Regions from separate parts of the Homo sapiens genome. Here region 2 is linked to region 1. Evidence: promoter capture Hi-C in human tissues and cell types (Jung and others, 2019). All regions are on one chromosome and are shown on one strand. Each heading gives the region's core, a stretch centred on a gene start or on the middle of the fragment in contact. The rest is flanking DNA. Distances are from core to core; before and after follow the strand shown.

What was found. The method cuts DNA at HindIII sites, captures the fragments that hold promoters and counts their contacts. A contact is called where the count stands out against the background at its distance.
Region 2: a fragment that was not itself captured here is called in contact with the fragment with the promoter of ASCL4 in region 1 in 2 of the 25 tissues and cell types used here (H1 embryonic stem cells and pancreas).

The regions. Positions count from the first base shown.
Region 1 is chr12:107,772,362-107,776,868 of GRCh38, forward strand. It overlaps ASCL4 (achaete-scute family bHLH transcription factor 4), which reads left to right and starts at 2,343. Exons shown (of 1, transcript NM_203436.3): 1 at 2,343-4,283. The coding sequence starts at 2,858. The coding sequence ends at 3,376. The HindIII fragment of the contact is 5,777 bases long and covers 1-3,262 here.
Region 2 is chr12:107,839,278-107,843,784 of GRCh38, forward strand. No RefSeq gene overlaps it. Among named protein-coding and RNA genes, the nearest start is that of ASCL4, 67 kb to the left of the region's middle. The HindIII fragment of the contact is 4,762 bases long and covers 244-4,507 here.

The DNA of each region.
Region 1 (4,507 bases), core at 1,093-3,592:
CTTGAACTCCTGGCCTCATGATCCTCCCACCTCGGCTTCCCAAAGTGCTGAGATTACAGGCGTGAGCTACTGTGCCCAGCCTCGCCTTTTTTTTTTTTTTTTTGAGACTGGGTCTTGCTCTGTCACCCAGGCTGGAGTGCAGTGGCGTGATCTTGGCTCAGTACAACCTCCGCCTCCAGGATTCAAGTGATTCTCCTGTCTCAGCCTCCCAAGTAGCTGGGATTACAGGCACCTGCTACAACGCCTGACTAATTTTTTGTATTTTTAGTAGAGACAGGGTTTCGCCACGTTGGCTAGGCTGGTCTCGAACTCCTGACCTCAAGTGATCCACCCACTTTGGCCTCCCAAAGTGCTGGGATTACAGGCATAAGCCACCTTGCCTGGAGTCTTCGTTTTTTTAAATTGCTACAAATGTTGCAATAAAGATTATTGTACACATAAATAGGTATTGCTACATTTATTTTGGTAGGACAAAACGGCACAGATATCTGAATCAAAGGATGTGATGTGCACTATTAATTTTAACAGTTTGTTTAGCTGGGATGTGGAGGCACAAGCCTGTAGTCCTAGCTACTCAGGAGGCTGAGATAGGAGGATCCCTTGAGCCTGGGAGGCGGAGGTTGCAGTGAGCCGAGATCGCATCACTGCACCCCAGCCTGGGTGACAGTGAGACCTGTCTCAAAATAATAATAATAATAATAATAATAATAATAATAATAATTTTAATAGTTTCTTGAAGCAATTTATGCTCCCACCCTTTCCTCAAATCCTTGCCTCCCCTGAATCTTAGCAATCTTTTAAACTTTTGCCAATCTGAGAAGGAGAAATGGCATCTCAACTGTTCTTCCTTTTGCTCTCTTCCAATCTAGTCCTCAATCTGCAGACACAGTTATCTTTTTTGAAACACAAATCTTCAAATGTCACCTCCCTGCTTAAAATATTTCATTATCTTCCTGTCACTCTTAAAAGTTAAAATCTTTGACATGGCCAAAAAGCACCTTGTGGTATAACAGCCTACCTGCCTGAGTGGTGGACTTTTCTCCTAATAGAAAGGGCTTTCTCAATTCTACTGAGAAATTGTGATGATATATTAGGCTATTTGCCAGTACAAACCTCATCAGGAGCTACAACTTTTAATTTTTCTTTCTTCTTTTTAAAAGATGGGGGTCTTGCTATGTTGGCCAGGTTGGTCTTGAACTCTTGGCCTCAAGCAATCCACCCGCCTTGGCCTCCCAAAGTGCTGGGAATACAACCTTGAGCCACTGCACCCAGCCAAGCTACACCTTTAAAAATGTGACTAACTTATACCCGAAAGGAATAATTATTTCTATTTTATTTGCCTTGTTTTTTGAGTTGCTTCAGGCGGATCATTTAGAACAAACAGGGAAGAACAGGACTTGCCAAACTAAAAAGAAAAACATGTTAGGGCAGCACCTTGTCTGCTGAGGAATAGGCAAAAGCTCTCATCATAAATGTAGGGGGTTTTTGCTTCTCTTGTTTTTAAGTAGGACTTTTAAAGTAGAAGACACCTTTAATGTACTGGTTTGCAGAAGAGGAAATCTGATTTTCAGTGTGATAACATATTCTTTGACGTTAACCAGTACAGTTGGATTTTTAATGACACTTTAATCTTCAAAGGTTTACCAACACGGATGGATTAATTATTCATTTTGGAGGGGTTGTGTCTTAAAAAGACAAGTCTTCAAAGACATCATCCTTTCTCCTTGGAACTTGGAGTCTCCACCTTTCAAATGTTGCTTTCCTGCCCCCAAGAGAGAAAATAAATGACATTTTTTAAAGAAGAAGAATCCAATGGAAAAACACTCTTTGCGCTATGGAAAGATGATGTCCTTATATCCTGGGTGAGATTAGAAGAGGAGGCTGGGAAGCAGTATTTAAGCTGTGTTTACAGTAAGCACTGTGAGAAATAACCGGCTAAGCGCGTTTGTTATTGTTCAGTCTTTTGATGTGCTTTTAAAAAGTCGCATCTCCATAAAACACCCTCAACAACCATAAAACAACATATGTTGGAACATAATATGCAGACCCTTATATTCTTTGCTACAGTCTGTATTTTTCCTATACCCTTCAAACATGCCTCATTGAGTTTTTAAAAGATTCGGTTTGGAAGAAGAAAAACCTCAAGCCTCGCCCCGGGTCTTCCTTGACTTGACACATTTTATAACCGCAAGAGAGCAGTTTTTCCTTTGATGAGGCTAAGACCCCAGAAATGAAAGAGCAAGTTTAAGTTTGCAAACACTCTAAAAGCTCCTTCCATTAGACCTGGTCGCGGGAAACCACAAAGGACAGTCAAGTGATTTTCAAGGAGAAAGCCTCTGGTCCACTTTCCCTCCGCCGCCAGATCTGCAGGTTCCTGGGAGGAGCTCTTCTCAAATCCTGAAGATTGCTAGGCTCTTGGCGAACGACTCATCTCTTGAAGACCTAGAGTGGTGGATTACAGGCATTGAAAAGCTTTTGGTGGCTTTGGAAGATGACTCTGGTGTGAGCTCACCTTTCCAGGCTGGGGGACCAGGCAGAGGAACCCCCTTTGTTATCTTCTGAAAGAAGATCAGTGGGGAAGACGGGGTTTGAAGTGTGGATTAGGAGATCCTACGTCTTTGCCTACCACCTCTGCCTAAATCATAAAAAGATCGAGGAGTGCAATGAACTTCAGGAATCATGCACCGTTTCCCTGAAGCCTGTCCAGGAACCTAACTTCTGGACCCAGAAACTTCTGCAAAGACAGACCCACTGAGCCAGGCAGTCTGCACCAGCACCTCTGCTTCTAAGATTCTGTTTCGTCTTCTTCTATTGAGAGATTGACCTCTTGAGTGATTTGTGTGCTTTCCGGCAAATGATGGAGACGCGTAAACCGGCGGAACGGCTGGCCTTGCCATACTCGCTGCGCACCGCGCCCCTGGGCGTTCCGGGGACCCTGCCCGGACTCCCGCGGAGGGACCCCCTCAGGGTCGCCCTGCGTCTGGACGCCGCGTGCTGGGAGTGGGCGCGCAGCGGCTGCGCACGGGGATGGCAGTACTTGCCCGTGCCGCTGGACAGCGCCTTCGAGCCCGCCTTCCTCCGCAAGCGCAACGAGCGCGAGCGGCAGCGGGTGCGCTGCGTGAACGAGGGCTATGCGCGCCTCCGAGACCACCTGCCCCGGGAGCTGGCAGACAAGCGCCTCAGCAAAGTGGAGACGCTCCGCGCTGCCATCGACTACATCAAGCACCTGCAGGAGCTGCTGGAGCGCCAGGCCTGGGGGCTCGAGGGCGCGGCCGGCGCCGTCCCCCAGCGCAGGGCGGAATGCAACAGCGACGGGGAGTCCAAGGCCTCTTCGGCGCCTTCGCCCAGCAGCGAGCCCGAGGAGGGGGGCAGCTAGCGAGCGCCCGAACTGGCCAGGACCCCCGCGCCCGCCGCACAGCGCGCAGCCGGGCGCTCAACCTAAGGTCCTCTTCGAAGGTGGTTTGCATTCTTAATCTGGCATCTTCTCCAGGCCTAAATCTTAAGAAAAAGAAATGGGTGCTGGGGTTTGGGGGATGGGGGAGTTGTTTTGACATTTGGGAATTTCTCCCCTGCCCTTATTGGTTACGTGCCTGCAACTTATAGGTGCTTATTAAGGAGACTCTTTTCCTATACTTCTAAAATGCAAACTGTTTCAGATTCTGAGCACCTCATTGTAAATACGATTATTCTAAAAACTCAAAGGGCGAGAACAACTGGAATTTCCCACCTTCCGTGGTGTGGGTAAATGGTATACATAAACATTAAACCTTAACCAAAGAAGAACTTTACCGCCACCAAAACAGAAACAACCCCAAACAGCCAAAAACAGTCCTTAAAAATGAGAGGAACATTTTCTTGCATTCCTTCCTTCGGGAATTGTATTCAAAATGTAATGGAAAGTAATTGTTGACCTCCTGCTTTGGGTGAAGGAGACTGTAAGCTGGTACTTGAGAACGAATTTGCCAGCATGTGCTGTTGTTGACTGTGTGAATGATGGTGCCAGGGAATCCGTGGCTTGGTACACACTGTTTCATCCAGTGGCCACGTGGAAGCTTTGTAGCATTGAGCAGATAGTAAAATATCTTAGAATTAATGATCTCTTTGGAAGAGAGCCCAGATTTGTATGAAAACTTGTTTTTCCTCTCAATTGTTTTGTCCACTGTTTTCTTCATTTTCCTTTTCTCTGCATACCCCCCGCCCCCCAACGTGTAGCTCTCCATCTAAGTTTTGGATAAACTGAAGTGGCACTGTGACTTTAAAAATAAAAAAGAAATCTACTTGGAAGTCCTTTTTGCGGGTTGAGCCAGATGGGGGAAAGATATGGGACAAGACGGATGGATTGAAGTTGGTACATTCTCAAATATTTTTATCACCATTAGGGCTTCCAGGTACAGTATATGGAAATGATGTAGTGACTTTGGCCATGTTAAAAGCCTTTTTAAAATATTGAATTTGGGTCATTTTTTTTCTAAGAAACAATTTTGAGTTCAGTAGATAAGTTAAATGC
Region 2 (4,507 bases), core at 1,375-3,874, 67 kb after region 1:
GCCATGTAACTCACCCAAGCCCATAGAGTTGGTCAGTAGCAGACCAAACATTCAAACTCAGAAACTCTGGCTCCAAAACCTGTGTTTTGCTGTGAAGGGAAAGTAACATTTATTTTCAAGTGTTTTTAGGCGATATGGTGGCAGATAAATTCATATTATCATCCCATTTCTGGCGATAACTATAAATAACAATTTCTGAATCTTACCATTTTTTAAATAAAAATACTTTATACCCAGGCAATTTTTAAAATGTACTTTCAATCAACTATAGTTTATGTTTTCTAAAGACTTTGAGCAACAGGATTTTATTCATTTACTCAACTGTTTATTCATCATGCAACAAATACTTAATGGGCACACAATACATGTTGATGACACATTTGGTCCAGGGAAATGATTTTGATACTTTAGAACTTTATAATCTGAAAGTAATAATTCACAACAGATTGTCAATAGTTTGCCTTACTATTGTACAGAAACAAAATCCTCCCCTTCTCCCTAGAATCTAAACCATTATGACGTTGATACACCTGATATTTTCAAGTACCTTACTAAATCATAGCTATTCATAATACTACTGTAAAAGGTATTGTAATATATACACATCCTCAAGGAATATTTACATTCTATTCAGGGTGGCCTAAGTGTTTGTATGTTTAATATCACATCATTTAAAAAATCTACTATGAGAGTTTAATATTTAGGTTATCATTTTCAGGTTCAATTAGACTAGAATATTCCATTCCTGGGCCAATTCTGAAGGAACAACCTCTTAACACACAACTATAAATGAATAAAAGTGCTAAGGACAATTAGTTTCCTGTAAGTCTTTAAAAGATAATGCATCAAGCTTTCTAATGTTTAACTTGCAAACAAAATTAAATTTGATAAACACGTCCTTCTCCACTGGATCATTCCCATCAGCCTACAAACATGCTCTAAAGGCTTCTATTTTAAAATTACAAACAGAAAATTCCCTTGAATCCCTCATTTTTCTTTGGCTGTCCCTCAATGTTGCCTTTCCCTGTAAAAGTTCTCTCAAAAGTTGTGAAAACTAAGTCATGCTCTGTGACTCACCCAGGGTTTCACGGTGACATTTATTGAAACTGCTCCTTGTCAAAGTCACTAGTCCTCATCTTAATTGATCTTTCAGCAACATTGATACAGCTGAGTATTCTCCCTAGCTTTGGCTGACTACACTATTCTACTTCCAGAAAAAGGAATCACTGCTAACACTCCTTCAGAGGGAAATACAGAACTTACAGATGTCACCTTCCTTTCTCATCTATTTCACTTAAACTGCTGTCATCCTTCAGTTGTAGCAGACCACCACTTAGTAAACTGGCTTTCTCAAATACTGGTGTAATCTCAGATTCTTTTGAGGTTCAGTTTCTATTTTCATTTCCCTTTACTTCCTTCATATACAAAGGCAGGACTACCACTTTTAAAAACTCCTTAAAAAGCATAAAATAAAGAAGCATCACACAATCCATTGTGCCTTACGTGAAGTAGAATGTGGTCTATTCAAAGGGTCCAGGGCAGCTCTAGGCATGATTGGCACTTAACAAAAAGTTAGTTCTTTTTTTTTTTTTTTTTTTTTTTAGACAGAACCTTGCCCTGTCACCCAGGCTGGAGTGCAATGGCACGATATTGACTCACTGCAACCTCCGCCTCCAGGTTCAAGAGATTCTCCTGCCTCAGCCTCCCGAGTAGCTGGGACTACAGGCAAGCGCCACCACGCCTGGCTAATTTTTTGTATCTTTAGTAGAGATGGGGTTTCACCATGTTGGCCAGGCTGGTCTCGAACACCTGACCTCGAACTCCTGACCTCATGATCCACCCACCTTGGCCTCCCAAAGTGCTAGGATGACAGGCGTGAGCCACCACGCCTGGCCAGTTAGTTCTTAAAATACTATGAGGAAAGAGGGCTAAAATAACAACAACAAATTTTTAAAAACAACTTCTTACTTTGATTGCTAAAAAAACTATAAGCCAAAGGAAACTTGGGATTCAAATGAGCAAGTATGACTCATTTTATTCAATACTTAGATTTATACAATATATGTAAATCACATACTTGCAATGATTTATATGAATATTTAAGACTAATACATTTTCAAAAGGGCAGTTAAGGTTGTCGTTTACTATTTTCTACCCAGAAATGCTTTTGTTTGAAAGGAGGGAAGGAAAGCTTCAGTGAAATGAAGTCCTAATACTCCAATTTTAAATCTCTCCGTTTGCTCAGACTGGGCTGGAAAACGTGATTTTTTCAGGATGGAAGAGTTCTGAGAGATAGTAGAATATTTCTGCTACCTAATAGATATTCAGGTAATGTTTGATGAATAAATTCTTTTAAGAATGGATAAATACAGTTGAGGAGTTCAATATTTTTTGAATAAAACTCCTATAAAGTAAACCAATACTTCTGCAAAAGTAATAATCATGTATATCTTCTATTTTTTATTTTCATAAGGACACAATGAAAATAAAATGATTACCCTATTAATTTTTTGCACATATGTAATGAACCTACATGTAATGAAAACACACATATATAATAAAATATATACATAATAAAATCTACAAGCACAGATAAAAAAAGTCCCTTTATTCTGAAGAGGTCAAAAGTTCACCGAAGACACCAATCTACACAAAAATAATAATAATAAACAGAAAATGATAAATTATTTTTAACTTTGAAGATTTATATTCTTCTCTTCCCAAGCATTATTCTATTAATAATAAACTTTCACTACAACTTTTATGCATACTCATTGCCAAAATCAAAGGTAAGAAAAAGGAAAAAACTTTATATATTGTACATATTTTTGGTAACATAAGATCACAACCTGTATGGATATATAATCAAACTGATTTTTTTCTCACTCAGTATACCAAAATACATCTTTGTACATCAACATTCTTCGGTATCTGTTGCCACCTTCAACAATCACTTATTCCATGCTATGAATGCACTGAAATTTATAAAATCCATTCTATGGGTTCTTCCTAAAATTAAGCAGTGCTGAGAAAACCAAATTGCATATATGTCTGTTTCCTAAAGCTATTTTAGTATAATGGAATTGAGGAGTAAAGAGCATATATTTTTTAAAAATACGGCACTTACCACCAAATTATCCATTTGAAAAGTCATCAGACTCTTTTTAACTTTAAGCAGCAGTATAAGCACCACTGCTCTTCATCATCACAAAATTGGGAATAGAAAACAGTATTTCGCTCCTCTTTACTTTAAATTCCTTCTCTTCCCAGGAAAGCTAAGCATGTTTTCTTTTGTATATAGATAACATGTTAAAACCTTGATATTTTATTAGGTTTATAAAAAATTAATAAACACATAAAGGGCTCACATTTTAAGAAAAATCGGTCTTCCTATCAAAGAACATGCAGCTCTCTTCCTACTTCAACATTTCCTTCTAAGTTCCCTCAGTAAAGAACATATTTACATAGATGTACATTGATATAAAATGGATATTGGATTTCATCCAAAGAATTTTTAGCCTACTAAAAATATTTTAAGAGTATTTATATTACGGGAACCATTTCTCTCATTATGCACCTTTTTGTCATGTGTATAACATCATGTTTTAAATGTATGCACTAAAAGTAAAATCCTGGACCTGCGCAGTGGCTCACGCCTGTAATCCCAGCAGTTTAGGAGGCCAAGGCGGGCAGATCACTTGAGGTCAGGAGTTCCAGACCAGCCTGGCTAAAATTGAAACCCCATCTCTACTAAAAATACAAAAATTAGCCGGGTTTGTTGGCCAGCGCCTGTAATCCCAACTACTCCGGAGACTGAGGCAAGAGAATCGCTTGAACCCCTGAGGCAGAGGTTGCAGTGAGCCGAGATGCGCCACTGCACTCCAGCCTGGGCGACAGTGAGACTCCGTCTCAAAATAATAATAATAATAAAATTCTTTATATACTTGTTAGTGAAATCACTAAAATTGTCTATAATGTGCTCTAGACGGGACAGTATGAGTAAGAGGATAGGAAACCAGCTAACGTTTTGTTTTGGTTTTGCTGCTCATGGAGATCCCCAGCGCCCCCTCCAAGGCGTCCCTGTCCCAGGGGCTGCGGGGCCTGCACGGAAGGACAGGGGCGCCTCCCAGACCCACCCTTCCCGCCGCCACCCTCGGCTGGGAGCTCCCATCTCCTGTTCCTGTTGTCCCCCTCCTTCAATGCAGGGCTCTTGAGCAGAAGGCACTGCTGCACTGTGGCCGTATCTCCCTCTCTGGCCGTCTTGTGGATCCTGCCGAGCTCTCAATCTCGGCGGTGCTACCAGGAATCCGAGTAGAAGTGGTCAGGGATGGAGCCCAGGGCCACCTCATCCTTCTTCCTCCTGGAGCCAAACAGCTTCTTCATCGCGGCAGCTTCGGAGAAGCCTCAGCTACCCTGCAGCTCCCCTTCGCCTTTTCGCGGAATCCGGAGTCCAGTCACAATTAGCTAAGCCCGGGGCACCAAAGCCTTTAGCAGCGAAACCGCCGCT